3 separate regions of the Homo sapiens genome follow, and all the other regions are linked to region 3. The links are contacts of gene promoters, found by promoter capture Hi-C in human tissues and cell types (Jung and others, 2019). All regions are on one chromosome and are shown on one strand. Each heading gives the region's core, a stretch centred on a gene start or on the middle of the fragment in contact. The rest is flanking DNA. Distances are from core to core; before and after follow the strand shown. Region 1 holds the start of TXN (thioredoxin). Region 2 holds the start of BSPRY (B-box and SPRY domain containing). Region 3 has its middle 15 kb from the start of DNAJC25.

The links. Contacts are between HindIII fragments. The study calls those that stand out against the background at their distance.
Region 1: a contact is called between the fragment with the promoter of TXN here and a fragment that was not itself captured in region 3, in 1 of the 25 tissues and cell types used here (dorsolateral prefrontal cortex).
Region 2: a contact is called between the fragment with the promoter of BSPRY here and a fragment that was not itself captured in region 3, in 1 of the 25 tissues and cell types used here (spleen).

Annotation. Positions count from the first base shown.
Region 1 is chr9:110,254,292-110,258,682 of GRCh38, forward strand. It overlaps TXN (thioredoxin), which reads right to left and starts at 2,216. Exons shown (of 5, transcript NM_003329.4): 1 at 2,121-2,216. The coding sequence starts at 2,144. RefSeq lists enhancers at 1,408-1,737, 2,480-3,679, 2,608-2,807, 2,848-2,897 and silencers at 1,808-2,057, 2,228-2,467. The HindIII fragment of the contact is 8,171 bases long and covers 1-4,391 here.
Region 2 is chr9:113,346,528-113,350,790 of GRCh38, forward strand. BSPRY (B-box and SPRY domain containing) reads left to right here and starts at 3,014. Exons shown (of 6, transcript NM_017688.3): 1 at 3,014-3,253. The coding sequence starts at 3,053. RefSeq lists silencers at 2,982-3,051, 3,082-3,361. The HindIII fragment of the contact is 5,403 bases long and covers 797-4,263 here.
Region 3 is chr9:111,613,932-111,618,671 of GRCh38, forward strand. No RefSeq gene overlaps it. Among named protein-coding and RNA genes, the nearest start is that of DNAJC25, 15 kb to the right of the region's middle. RefSeq lists an enhancer at 2,840-3,573. The HindIII fragment of the contact is 3,634 bases long and covers 122-3,755 here.

The DNA.
Region 1 (4,391 bases), core at 966-3,465, 1.4 Mb before region 3:
TGGTGGATCACCTGAAGTCAGGAGTTCGAGACAAACCTGACCAACATGGTGAAACCCCATCTCTACTAAAAATACAAAATTACTGGGCATTTTGGCAGCGCATGCCTGTAATCCCAGCTGTGCAGGAGGCTGAGGCAAGAGAATCGCTTGAACTCAGGAGGTGGAGGTTGCAGTGGGCCGAGATCGCGCCACTGTACTCCAGCCAGGGCAACAAGGGCAAAACTCCATCTCGAAAAACAAACTAACAGACAAATAACAATCAAATTAGTGTAACTTTCGATCAATGACTTTGGATTGTTATTTTGAGGATTAATTGATTATCAGGGCCTTTGGGCCCCAGGCTGTAGTGCTTTTTTTAAAGTTCCTGTCACCCTTGTACACCTTTGTCACTGGTAGAGGAGGAAGGTGCTCTGACATGCTCTGACAACTGGGAGGACTAAACTGTGTGCTCCAGAAATCCTAATCAACTTTGTTTGTAGTGTCTGGATTTTGGGACAACTAACATAGACCACTCAAAGGTCTTCTGGCTCAGTGGAGGGGGTTCTTAGCAGTTGGGTTATACTGAGGTTGCCAGACCCTGGAGAACAGAATCCCAGCCCCACTCCCTTCCCCAGGAATGGATTAATAATTTGTCACACAATAGGTGCTTGGAAAAAAAGTATATGAAAGACAATTCACTACTAAGGATCTTTTCAACACATGAGGGCTGCTAAAATGAGAATCCCACTAAGAAAAAACTGATTGAGAGGAAGATAAAAGATGACAGTGGCAATCAACATATGAGGAAAAAACACTGAGAGTCAATAATAATCAAAGGAACAAAAGGATCGGGGACACATTGCAGACACACTTCTGTTTCCGAAGCCCACCCGGCACCAAACAGGTCAGGGCACCCGAGGCGGGCGAGGACCCGCCCTCCTCTGCTTCCCGCAGGTAGGGAGGGGTAATCGCAGGGTAGGCGCTGGCGAGGGGTCTTCTACCGTTCGAGCAGTATCAATTTCCTCCACTCACTTTTCTGACGCTGCATTTAACAAATATTTCTGGAGTGGCTACATTGGACTAGACACTGCGCGTTAGGCTCTGGGTTTCCCAGTCTACAAGGTTTTAGGCTTGCAATAACTTTCAAACATGGGAAGGCTGTTTCGCCTTGGGCATTTTTAAGAGGACAAAACAACGATCGGGATACCGATAGGTCGGCGAGCAGGCAGCAGGGCGCGGCTGCTCCCAGGAGGAACCCTGGCTCCAGCAAAACCCACCGACTGAGGGTGAATCATGGACGGGCAGGGCAGCCGAGGCCCCCGGGCCCAACCTTGGGGACTCAGTCATTCCAAAGCCACTGCTGCCGGAAACGCGCCCTGCGCCACAGGAGTCCCGTGGGCGCGGCCCGGACCTCACTTCCTCGCGGTCACCTGGGGCCCTCGGGCCTCCTGGACAGACCTGCACGTGCCAGGGGGTCTCCAGCCGCAATCCGCCCCCTTAGTGCGGATACAGCACGCGTCACCTTTGGGGTCGGGCATGGGTGGAGGCAGGCGGGGGTCTCCGGCCTAGACCCGCTCCCAAAGGGAGATCACTACCCCCGCTGCGGGTGGATCACTTCACATACGGAAAGGCAGCGGCGGCCACCGACCCGTGCCTTCTGCAAGGGCCCTCCCTATCCTTGCCTGGGGCCTGAATCTGGATACAGATGGGGGGCCAAGGGCGGACCCCTTCCATTCCCTCATCTTCCTCCAGTCGGGGCTGCCCGGACGGGAGGGTGCAGGAGGCGCAGCGTGGGGACTCCTCACGCTGTCTGCGCTCTCACATCCCCCGGACGCTCCCCGCGTGCGTGCAATCCCCCGAGGAACAGGGTGCGAGAAACGCTGGGCACCGCCACTCCGCCCTCCAGGGGACCCTCGTCCTTCTCCTCCCTTCCTCCAGGGCAGGCTCCACCGCCTCGGGCGCGCCCAGGCCGCTGCTTCCCGCAGTCCCAGGCCGAGACGCCGCGTCCCTTTCCCCTGGCGATGCGGAGGGGCGGCCTCCGCACCTCCCGCCACCGCCTTCCCCACCTCCCGCCACCGCCTTCCCCAGTTACAGAGGCCGCGCGCGGCGCCGGCACCCTGGCCTTCCCCGGTAGCGCGTACCTTGCTCTCGATCTGCTTCACCATCTTGGCTGCTGGAGTCTGACGAGCGGCTGTAAGGACCGATGGAAATGGATCCAAAGCACCAAACAGAGCTTCAAGACTCGCTGCTTGCTCTCTCCCTTTATAAACTGGCACGCCCGGCGTGCGTGTGGCGGGGGCGCGCGCGCCCGGCCGGACCTCCGCGCCCGTCGCTGCGCCCCGGCCACGCCCCGCCCCTGGAGCCTGCGAGCCGGGATCGGGGCGGGGCTGGCGCAAGCGTGGGGCGGAGCTCCAGGGCTTCGGCTCCTGTAACCCCAAGCCCAGCTCGCACTCCAGCTGGAAGTGGGGATCAGCACTGCGCGTGACGGTGGGAGGCGGGGAGACGGACAGTCACCCCCAGAGACACAAGGTCCCTCCCGGGTCACCTGGGGATGCGTCCGCCGGGCCTGAATCGAACACGCCCACGCTCGAGATGGGGACCGCCCAGGCAGGGCTGGATTCCTCGAAAAGGGCCGCCACGCCCCGGCCCCCCCAGCCACGTGAACCCCACAAAGTGCTGAGTAACGGTGACCGGGAAGTATCTCGGTGTGTACGTCCTTGCCTCCTCTCCGGAATTTACCGTGACCGTTCTCTTCTCTGTAACCTCCTTCTGTTCTTTCATTTTCACTGCTGAGCCCGCTGCTCCAGCTTGACACAGCGGTTTAGTGCGGTAGAAACGACCGGGGGACTGGTTGGGCTCTTGACCATCAGACAGCTGCGTGTGAGATGGAAGTGCCACTGGGTTGAGCTCTGCAACTTAGTTACGCAGTTGTGACCCTGGAAAGGTCCTGACCTCCTGAAGTCTCAGTGTTTCCTTCTGTAGAACGGGAATCATGATGGTCTCAATCTCACGGTGGTGGTATTTTGAGGGTTAATAGTGCTTGCAAAGGACGGTGCTTGGCACATAGTAAACACTCCATAGATAGTTCTTACTGTTCGGTGTCTTGCAGGGACTGATTGGGCCTGGCCACCTTATACAGCATTTACAATGGCACAGCACGCACACTTGTGTGAGATTCTTCTAACAGAGGCAGACTCCTGGAACAGAAGTCGGAGTTTGCATTGATCCAGGAATGCCTGTTGCAGGTTATGTCTGGCAGGGCTGGGGATTGTGGAAGGTGGGTATGTTAGCTGGCCTTGTGGAGCCAGGAGGGCCTGTCAGCGGCTGGAAGTGGAGGTTGAAAAGCTGCTCACAGGAACGAGAGCTAGAAGGCTGGGAGGGAGAGTCCCAGGTCTGTGTTTTCAGAGCTGAGCTGTTCCCGATGAAGCTGCAACTAGGTGTGATTGCCTAGGGGTGGTGATACTGCTGCCTGGCTGCCCCCTGAAATCCCTGGCTTCCTTCTTTCACTCTTTCAGACAGAGGAAGGGAGGAAACCAGAGGTTTTGAATCTATTGTGCAAAGTTTCTAGGGGGCTGAGGAGCACGGAGCATGAATATGGATATAGGCAAGGGACACATTCTAAAGACAGCCCATAGGGAGGGAAGACAGACTGCCCTGAATGCAGCAATGTTCCCAAAGAGAGGGAGGTTATTGGGGCAGAGAGGAAGGAGCTGTATGGAGCACCCAGAGCAGAATCTATAACCTGCTTTTCTGCTGCTGGGTTTTCAGTTCAGCTGCATCCCAGCTTCCTGACTTTTATCTGTTTGTTGGTGAATTTGCATGGGTGATAACAACAAATCATTGAGTTCCAGGAAGGGGCAATGCAGGCCATCCTCAGCTGACTTCTCTCCAAAGACCTTCCAAATGTCCAGTGACTCAGTGAAGGAGGTACTCCCTCTCTCCCACCTCCACAGCACCAATGCAGAGTAGATGTGGAGGATGGTACAGTTATAAGGAACTGGGAGGCCAGTCTGGACTCTGCAATTTGACTCCGTTGTCCTCATCCCTACTCTACCACTTCATGACTGGGTAACTCTAGGCAAGTCTAAATAGCCTTTTTGTGCCTCAGTTTCCTTATGTGAGAAGTGGGCGTAATAATAGCTTGTGCTATTATAAGGGTTGAGTGAACTAAAATATATGTAAAATGCTTAGAACCGTGCCTGGTGTGTAGTGAATGCTACATGAACTATGATTATAGGCTATTAAATGAATGATGAGATCCATCTGGAATGATGGCAGAGCTAGGGTGGAAGGAGAGATTATAAAACAGGTGTCAGTCTTAAATGAATTAAGTAATGAAGACAGTAGTAATGAACAGTGAGCTCCGTAACATAAGCCTCAAAGGAAAAGGCCTTTTTTTTCCCTGCAAGGAA
Region 2 (4,263 bases), core at 1,764-4,263, 1.7 Mb after region 3:
TACCGGAAAGTCTGCGTGTTTTACAACTCCTCCTCTTTCCCCTCCTGACCATCCCCTGTCCTCCAACGATTCCGAAGCCTGATAAAGCTTAAGAGCTATAACCGGGGAGTTTATGAGTATCCCAGATGTGTCCTGCAGGGCTTGATGAACAGATAGGGAAAGGGCGATTCTCCAGTTCCAGTCCAACTTGGCTCATAAGTGGTGAAACAGAGGAACCCGACTTGATAAAAGTAAATCTACTCCTACCTTAGCCCTTTGCATTTGCTGATGCCACTACCTGAAAGTAATTCTGGTGATTTAGGGGCTGTTTTCCAGATCCTGGACCTGGTAGGGCCAATGACTGCTCTAGGGCCACACCCAGTGAAGGCCCCCCTCCCCCCCCCCCACCTTTCCCTAAGGATTTTAACCCTTGTTCCTCCCCCTGCCCTCCACAACCTCTTTTCTTTCTTTTCTTTTCTTTTCTTTCTTTCTTTCTTTTTTTTTTTTTTTGAAACAGAGTGTTGCTCTGTTGTCCAGGCTGGAGTGCAGTGGCGCGATCTCAGCTCACTGCAACCTCCACCTCCTGGGTTCAAGCGATTCTCATGCCTCAGCCTCCCCAGCAGCTAGGATTACAGGTGTGCACCACCATGCCCGGCTAATTTTTGTGCTTTTAGTAGAGACGGGGTTTCACCATGATGGCCAGACTGGTCTCGAACTCCTCAAGTGATCCGCCTGCCTCAGCCTTCCAAAGTGCTGGGATTACAGGCATGAGCCACTGCTCCTGGCCACACAACCTCTTTTCTTTTTAGCCTTCACACAAAAAGCACCTCCTATTTTCTTTGTTTTCACCATAGGGTTTAATAATTCCCCATCCCCAGTCCTTAGAAGGAAAAAATTCTAACCACAATCTCTAATTACCATGGCCTATTTCCCTCCCCACCCCCAGAGGAGTGTAGATGCTGTTATGAGGCCATCACCCTCCCACTGGGATGCACTGGAAACTTCTTTAGATGCCAGGAAAGCAGCACCCCTGTCGCCAAAGAACCTCACACAATTTACATTCTGAAACCTGCTACAACTGTATTTACAGATCCTCACACATATAATAAAACCTTTTATTATCCCCTACTGTATATCAGACACCCAAAGTAAATACTTTGTAGACAAGATCTCATTTCATTCTTGAAGTAGCCCTCTAAGGTAGATGATAGTATTATTATCACCTCTGTTGTAGAGATAAGAAAACAGACACAGAAGCTGTGAGTAACCTGACCAAGATCCCATAGCTGTAAGCTGCATAGCTGGGATGAAACCAATGACTATATTTCACTCAGTGTTCTCTCTAATCATATGGTGTAATATTGTCTATCTGGGGTGACAATGTGTCCCCATTGGATGATGACACCACTGTGTACCGCTCTGGGTAGCTCTGGGGCTGTTAGCTGCCCTTACCCCTCAGGTGCTAAAGCAGTAGTGGCTGAGAAGGAAAGGGTTCTATCTCCTTTGTGTGGCCATTGCTTAGAGAAGCTTCAGAGTAGAGGTGCTAGAGCCCCTGTGAGCTATGGGATGTAATGTTTCTCTTTCGGTTTAGCTCCCGCCTGTGTTCAGTTCTGATGCACTCAGAGTACTCTCTGACACCTGAAGGCCTGGGCCCTTCCCCTTTTGAGAGAGTGCCCAGCTTTCTGCCAAGACTCCTAAGAAAGAATTTGGGGTTGGTGGCCGGGCGCGGTGGCTCACACCTGTAATCCCAGCACTTTGGGAGGCTGAAGGGGGGAGATGGCTTGAGCCCAGGAGTTTGAGATCAGCCTGGGCAACATGGCAAAACCCTGTCTCTACGAAAAATACAAAACTTAGCTGGGCACGGTGGCATGTGCCTGTAGTCCCAGCTACTCAGGAGGCTGAGGTGGGAGGATCACTTGAGCTGGGGAGGTCGAGGCTGCAGTGAGCTATGATTACACCACTGCACTCCAGCCAGGGTGACACAGTGAGACCCTATCTCAAAAAAATAAAAAAAAATAAAAAAAAAAAAGAAGAAGAAGAATTTAGAGCTGGAGAGCAGCGTTCTCCTTGTATGCCCAGACAGACTAGACTGGATCCCCAGCAGAGGGCTCAATCTGGGCTCAGACTAATATATAAGATCCTGAGGGTGGGAAAAGCCCTAAACAGCTCAGGAACATGTTAGCAGTTTTTCTTTCTGGGGTGGGAGTGGGTGGATTTTTCTTCCACATGCTTATTTGCATATTTTGTTTTCTTCGAAATAAAAAGGCATTACTTTTTTTCAATGCTAGTTTAAAAAGAAAACTCAAATATTCAAATTCAAAAAGTTTGGATGTAAATACTTTGGGAAAATCAGCCTAATACAGATATTTCTCACTGGGCCTCAATGTTCAATTTAAAAAATTATTAATTATAGTAACCTTAAGTCACACTGCCTAGGTTCCAATCTCATAGCTACCAATTAGTAACTGTGACCCTTGGCAAGCCACTTAACTTCCATAAAAATGGGATCCTAATAGTACTTTCCTCGCACTGTTAGTAGACACTTAGCGATTGCAGCTGCTATGTTCCAGATATTGTTTTACGTATTTAGCGTATTTACTCCTCAGACGTCTGGGAGGCAGGTACTCTCACCCCATTTTACAGCTGGAGTTCCCACCCAGTGAGCAGCCAAACGGGATTTGAACCAGGCAGTTTCTCAGCAGAGCCTTGCTTGAAGCTAGGCATCTAAAGCTGCCTCTCAAAAAGGGCAGTGGTCGGGATTACATAACAGAACGCTTGCAAAGCTCTCAGCGAAAGCCTGGCACTTAATAAGTGCTCAATAAAGTTTCCTACGGTCACAGTAATATTTGGAGTTTTATGTTTGTTGTAGAACAAATACGCATACAATCGCGATTTCATTCAACAAGGAATTTAAAGAGACCTGCTGCCCCGGGCGGGATGGGAGCGCGGGTTGGGTGGGAGGAGGCGCAGCTGCGGGGCGCGCTGGCGCACCGGGAGGGCCGGGGGCGGGGTCAGCCAGGCCCCGCCCGCCGCCACCTGCGACAGGTGGAGCGCACGGGGCGGGCGCACGGCCATGTCCGCCGAGGGCGCGGAGCCGGGGCCGGGGTCCGGGTCCGGGCCCGGGCCGGGGCCACTCTGCCCCGAACACGGCCAGGCTCTGAGCTGGTTCTGCGGCTCCGAGCGACGGCCCGTGTGCGCCGCCTGCGCGGGGTTGGGCGGTCGCTGCCGGGGGCACCGCATCCGCCGGGCGGAGGAGCGCGCCGAGGAGCTGCGGGTGAGCGGGTGTGGGCGCCGGAAGGCGAGGGCTCCGGAGACCCCGGGCGCGCCTGGCGGGACCCGGCAGGGACTGGGGAGCCTGGGGCTGGGCGGACTCGACACCCGGCCCCGGAGCCTAGGCTCCTCGGTGGCTTTGGCTGTAGGACTAGGCGGTTAAGGGTGTGGCCTCTGAAGTCAGGCTGGCCTGAGTTCGAATCTACTCCCTGTGAGTCACGTAACTCTGAGCCTCAGTGTCTTCATCTGTAGTTTGGGGACAACAACAATAATAATAGCGCGTATTTATTAGAGTTGTGAGAAATAAATAAGATAGTGGGTAAAATGCTTAGCGATAAGGGGATCCAGGCTCCCCAGGCCCCTTCCATTGCTCTGTTGAGGAAGCTGGGGCTGGCATGAAAGGCTCAGCTGCTCCAGTTCTCAGCGCAGGGTGTGCCCCAGCTCCCGCCCCTGTGGAAACTGACACTGATAAAATCCAGCGCGACCGTATCCCTTAACCCCTGGACTCAAAGCCCCCCTCCTCCTTTCGCCTCTTCCCCCTGCTCCTAACCCCTTCTGGCTTCTGGTGCGGTGATCTCTTTTTCGCTTTCAGGATTGGCCTTGACTGTACTTCAGGCTGGTTTAAGGGCTTCAGCTGGATAAACGGTGGGGGTAGGGAGAATATCAGGGGATTCCCCTTCACCCAGGCTTTCTCGCCACCTCCACTTCCAGCTCGGCTCCAGGGTGGCCACCTCCTTGTCATCACCATTCTCCTGAGCTGCTGAGATTGGGAGAGTCGAAGTCACCTTGGGCTTCTCTGTGGCCCCTGGGGATTTCCTTGCAATTTGATTAAACAGCTTGTTTCTCCCAACCCGACTCTGCAGTTCACCCCTGCTGTGAAGCCTGAGGGCTCTGGCTGGGGACTTCGCCTACCCAGAGTGACCTGTAATAAACACATCTTATATAGGGTGCTGGGCTCGGGAGGGGTTCAGTTTTTCAGCAACACCCAAAAGCTCCTGGTTCGTCCTACCTGTT
Region 3 (4,740 bases), core at 689-3,188:
GAATCTGAAAACAAGCCTGGGCAATATAATGAGACCCCATCTCTACTAAACTTAAAAAAAAAATGAGTGGGGCATGGTGGTGCATGCCTGTAGTCATAGATACTCAGGAGGCTGAAGCAGAAGGATTGCTTGAACCCAGGAGTTGGAGGCTGCAGAAAGCTATGATCACACCACTGTACCTCAGCCCAGGTGACAGAGTAAGACTCTGTCTCCAAAATAATAATAATTTTATATATATGTATATATATATATATATATTTTTTTTTTTGAGACAGGGCCTCACTCTGTCGCCTAGGCTGGTGTACAGTGGCATGATCTCAGCTCACTGCAACCTCTGCCTCCCAGGTTCAAATAATTCTCCAGCCTCAGCCTCCTGAGTAGCTGGGACCACAGGTGCGCACCACCAAGCTCAGCTAATTTTTGTATTTTTAGTAGAGATGTGGTCTTGCCATGTTGCCCAGGCTGGTCTTGAACTCCTGAGCTCAAAGTGATCCACCTGCCTCTGCCTTCCAAAGGGCTGGGATTACAGGTGTGAGCCACTACACCCAGCCTAACAATAATAATTGTGTTTTTTTGTTTTTTGTTTTTTGAGATGGAGTCTTACTCTGCTGCCCAGGCTGGAGTACAGTGGCGCGATCTTGGCTCACCACAAGCTCCACCTACCGGATTCATGCCATTCTCCTGCCTCAGCCTCTCGAGTAGCTGGGACTACAGGTGCCCACCACCTTGCCCGGCTAATTTTTTTGTATTTTTGGTAGAGACGGGGTTTCACCGTATTAGCCAGGATGGTCTCGATCTCCCGACCTCATGATCCACCTGCCTCGGCCTCCCAAAGTGCTGGGATTACAGGCATGAGACACCGCACCCGGCCAATAATTTTTAAATATTTATATGAGAGGCAGAGAAATTTTGTAGGAAAGGAATGCTTTGTATGGAAGAGAGTTAAGATGCACAAAGACAGTAAGTGGTTCAAGATCAAGGGGAAAAGTGAGTGCTCAGCTCAGTGTTGGTTACTTGTATCTTACTTCAGCCCAGACTCTTGGGCTCATGCCCAAGTTCCAGCTCAGGGGGACACCAACAAAGAAAAAAGTAAGAACTTAAACAAGTGGCTTCATTAAACTCTCTGTGACATACTGAGTAGCTTTGTTACATAGATGGGAGATGGCACCAGTGACTTCGACCCTATCGGAGACATTGGGATTCGTCAATCTAATTACTCATGTGGAGGGTGCCCAAGGATACCTTATGTTTGGAGAGTCACTGGAAGGGCTCACGGGACCCAGACTATAGTTGTATTCATGGCTAAGGTTTATTACGGCAATGTAATGAGGAGGGAGAAAGACTCAGGTGGAGCCTGGGGAAATCCATGGGCAGGCATCCTACTGCCCCCTCCCTCCACGAGGAATTGCACAGTGCACTCTTCCTTCAGCAATGAAAATATATTTCCCCAGCAGTAAGCATTCAATGTTTCTGCTTATTAGAGGGAAACCCATTAGAGTCTCAACATCCAAAGTTTTACTAGGGTCTAGTCACATAAGGCACCCTCTGCCTAGCGTGTACCAAAATTCCAGACCCCCCAAAGGAAGGCAGGTGTTCAGCATAAACCACACTGTTTGTATAGTCTAGGCAGAATGGGCCACCCTTGTCAGTTAGGGAATGGTGGGGACACGCTTCAAATCCAAGTTCCCAGACACCAGCCCAAGGCCAACATCGCAATCAGGCTTGCTATGTTAACTCTTCTGTACATCAGTAAAACCTCTAGCAATAGTGAAGTCATTAAGAGAAATTTCGTCCTGGAAATTTTCCACCAGAATTTCTAATGTTGTATGGTGTATGCACAGAAGTTAGGATTAAATATGTTAAAGCTTGGCAGCTCTTCTAACTGGTCTATATTCAAGAAATATATTCAAGGCAGGGCAAAAGAAAAAGAATATAGCCAATTGCAAATGAGGAGGTAATTGGTTCTTTGACCATTTGTCCCTGAAGCACAGCTGCAGATTAACACTTCCTTGTGGGTCGTTCTCATCTCAGGAGGACAGCTGATGTACATAGACACACAGGGAGGTGGGCACTGAGGGTGGGCTGTAAACCTGGCACAACCTAGCTATGATATCCACTGTGACATCTAACCTGCTAGTAGAATCATGCCAAGGAATGGAAGTAATGCAAGCTGACAGAGGTTTGGGCCCAGGAATTTCCTCCCACAGTAGAGGAATGTGGTAGAGACATACGTAGTCACAGAACCAGAGCTGTGGACCAAAAGAAGGTTCGAAGATGAATATTTCTGGCAGAAAGCTAACAGTAACTATTTTGAATTTACCAGGCACCTCCCTAAGGAAAATTGCTTTCAGAAAACACTGGAGCAAGAGAATACATGGAAGATAGTTTATACTCCTGCATCCTCCAACCTAGAATTCTAAAAGAAAAAAAAAGAGTACCTAAAAAAAGAAAGAAGCTGAGGACCTAGGACAAATTGAACAGAGCAATGCAGCCTGGGCTGCAAATAGCCGGATACTAAAACTAGGATTTTTGCAGAGCTATCTCGGGGGTAGAAGAACCTGAACTACAGGTTAAATGTGCCAGGTGATGTTCCGGAATAGAAAGTCAAGGAGAATGAGAGTCAGATTATGCAGTGTTTGGGGTGAGACTGTATGAAATGAGTGCCAGAAGCTATAACACTTGTGTGCTTAAATGCCAATTTTGGAGTAAGATTTTGTCAGGGTAGAATCTGCTGTGGAAGCATGAGCTGAGCTTCCCACCTTTCCCATCCAACAATGAATTAATCCAGTGAGACACTACCTTTTCTCCATCAATCTGTATCCTTGATCCTGAATATGAGGACAATGGTAAAATTGCACAATGTGAGTTACAATTCTCTTGTGCTCTTTGGATGATGTTTTTCTTTTTATTTATTTATTTATTTATTTATTTATTTTATTGATCATTCTTGGGTGTTTCTCGGAGAGGGGGATTTGGCAGGGTCATAGGACAATAGTGGAGGGAAGGTCAGCAGATAAACAAGTGAACAAAGGTCTCTGGTTTTCCTAGGCAGAGGACCCTGCGGCCTTCCGCAGTGTTTGTGTCTCTGGGTACTTGAGACTAGGGAGTGGTGATGACTCTTAACGAGCATGCTGCCTTCAAGCATCTGTTTAACAAAGCACATCTTGCACCGCCCTTAATCCATTTAACCCTGAGTGGACACAGCACATGTTTCAGAGAGCACATGGTTGGGGGTAAGGTCATAGATCAACAGCATCCCAAGGCAGAAGAATTTTTCTTAGTACAGAACAAAGTGAAGTCTCCCATGTCTACTTCTTTCTACACAGACACAGCAACAATCTGATTTCTCTATCTTTTCCCCACCTTTCCCCCTTTTCTATTCCGCAAAACCGCCATCGTCATCATGGCCCGTTCTCAATGAGCTGTTGGGTACACCTCCCAGACAGGGTGGTGGCCGGGCAGAGGGGCTCCTCACTTCCCAGAAGGGGCAGCCGGGCAGAGGCGCCCCCCACCTCCCGGACGGGTCAGCTGGCCAGGTGGGGGCTGACCCCCCACCTCCCTCCCGGGCGGGGTGGCTGCCGGGCGGAGACGCTCCTGGCTTCCCAGACGGGGTGGCAGCCGGGCGGAGGGGCTCCTCACTTCTCAGACGGGGCGGCTGCCGGGCGGAGGGGCTTCTCACATCCCAGACGGGGTCGAGGCCGGGCAGAGGCGCTCCCCACATCTCAGACGATGGGCGGCCGGGCAGAGACGCTCCTCACTTCCTAGATAGGATGGCGGCCGGGAAGAGGCGCTCCTCACTTCCCAGACTGGGCAGCCGGGCAGAGGGGCTCCTCGCATCCCAGACGATGGGCGGCCAGGCAGAGACGCTCCTCACTTCCCAGACGGGGTGGCGGCCGGGCAGAGGCTGCAATCTCGGCACTTTGGGAGGCCAAGGCAGGCGGCTGGGAGGTGGAGGTTGTAGGGAGCCGAGATCATGCCACTGCACTCCAGCCTGGGCAACATTGAGCACTGAGTGAACGAGACTCTGTCTGCAATCCCGGCACCTCGGGGGGCTGAGGCTGGCGGATCACTCGCGGTTAGGAGCTGGAGACCAGCGCGGTTAGGAGCTGGAGACCAGCCCGGCCAACACAGCGAAACCCCGTCTCCACCAAAAAAATACGAAAACCAGTCAGGCGTGGAGGCGCGCGCCTGCAATCGCAGGCACTCGGCAGGCTGAGGCAGGAGAATCAGGCAGGGAGGTTGCAGTGAGCAGAGATGGTGGCAGCACAGTCCAGCTTTGGCTCGGCATCAGAGGGAGACCGTGGGGAGAGGGAGAGGAGAGGGAGGGGGAGGGGGAGGGAGAGGGAGAGGGAGAGGGAGAGGGGATGTTTTCAACTTTAGTTTTTTTTTTGTTTTTTTTTTTGTAGAGTTTCAGAGAGAAAGAGGCGTTTGTATTGATTCAAGAGGATTGAATCAGATGGATTTTCCATTTAGAAAGCAAAAGGTAAGAAAAAAAATAGAAACAATACCTTTGTGCCAAGAGAAGAGCAAATGGGAAAGTTAGATATAGAATTGTTATCAGTATGTCTTCTTTTTCAGTACAAAATACCTTGAAAACTTAGTTAATCTTGTACATTCAACAGACTATGTTCTGGAATGTTCTATTCACATGTTTCAGGAAGACTAACCTTTCTCTTTCTATTCTGTAGAAAATCAAGACTTCAGCATTGTGTTTAAAATGATGAAGGCAGCCGGGGGCGG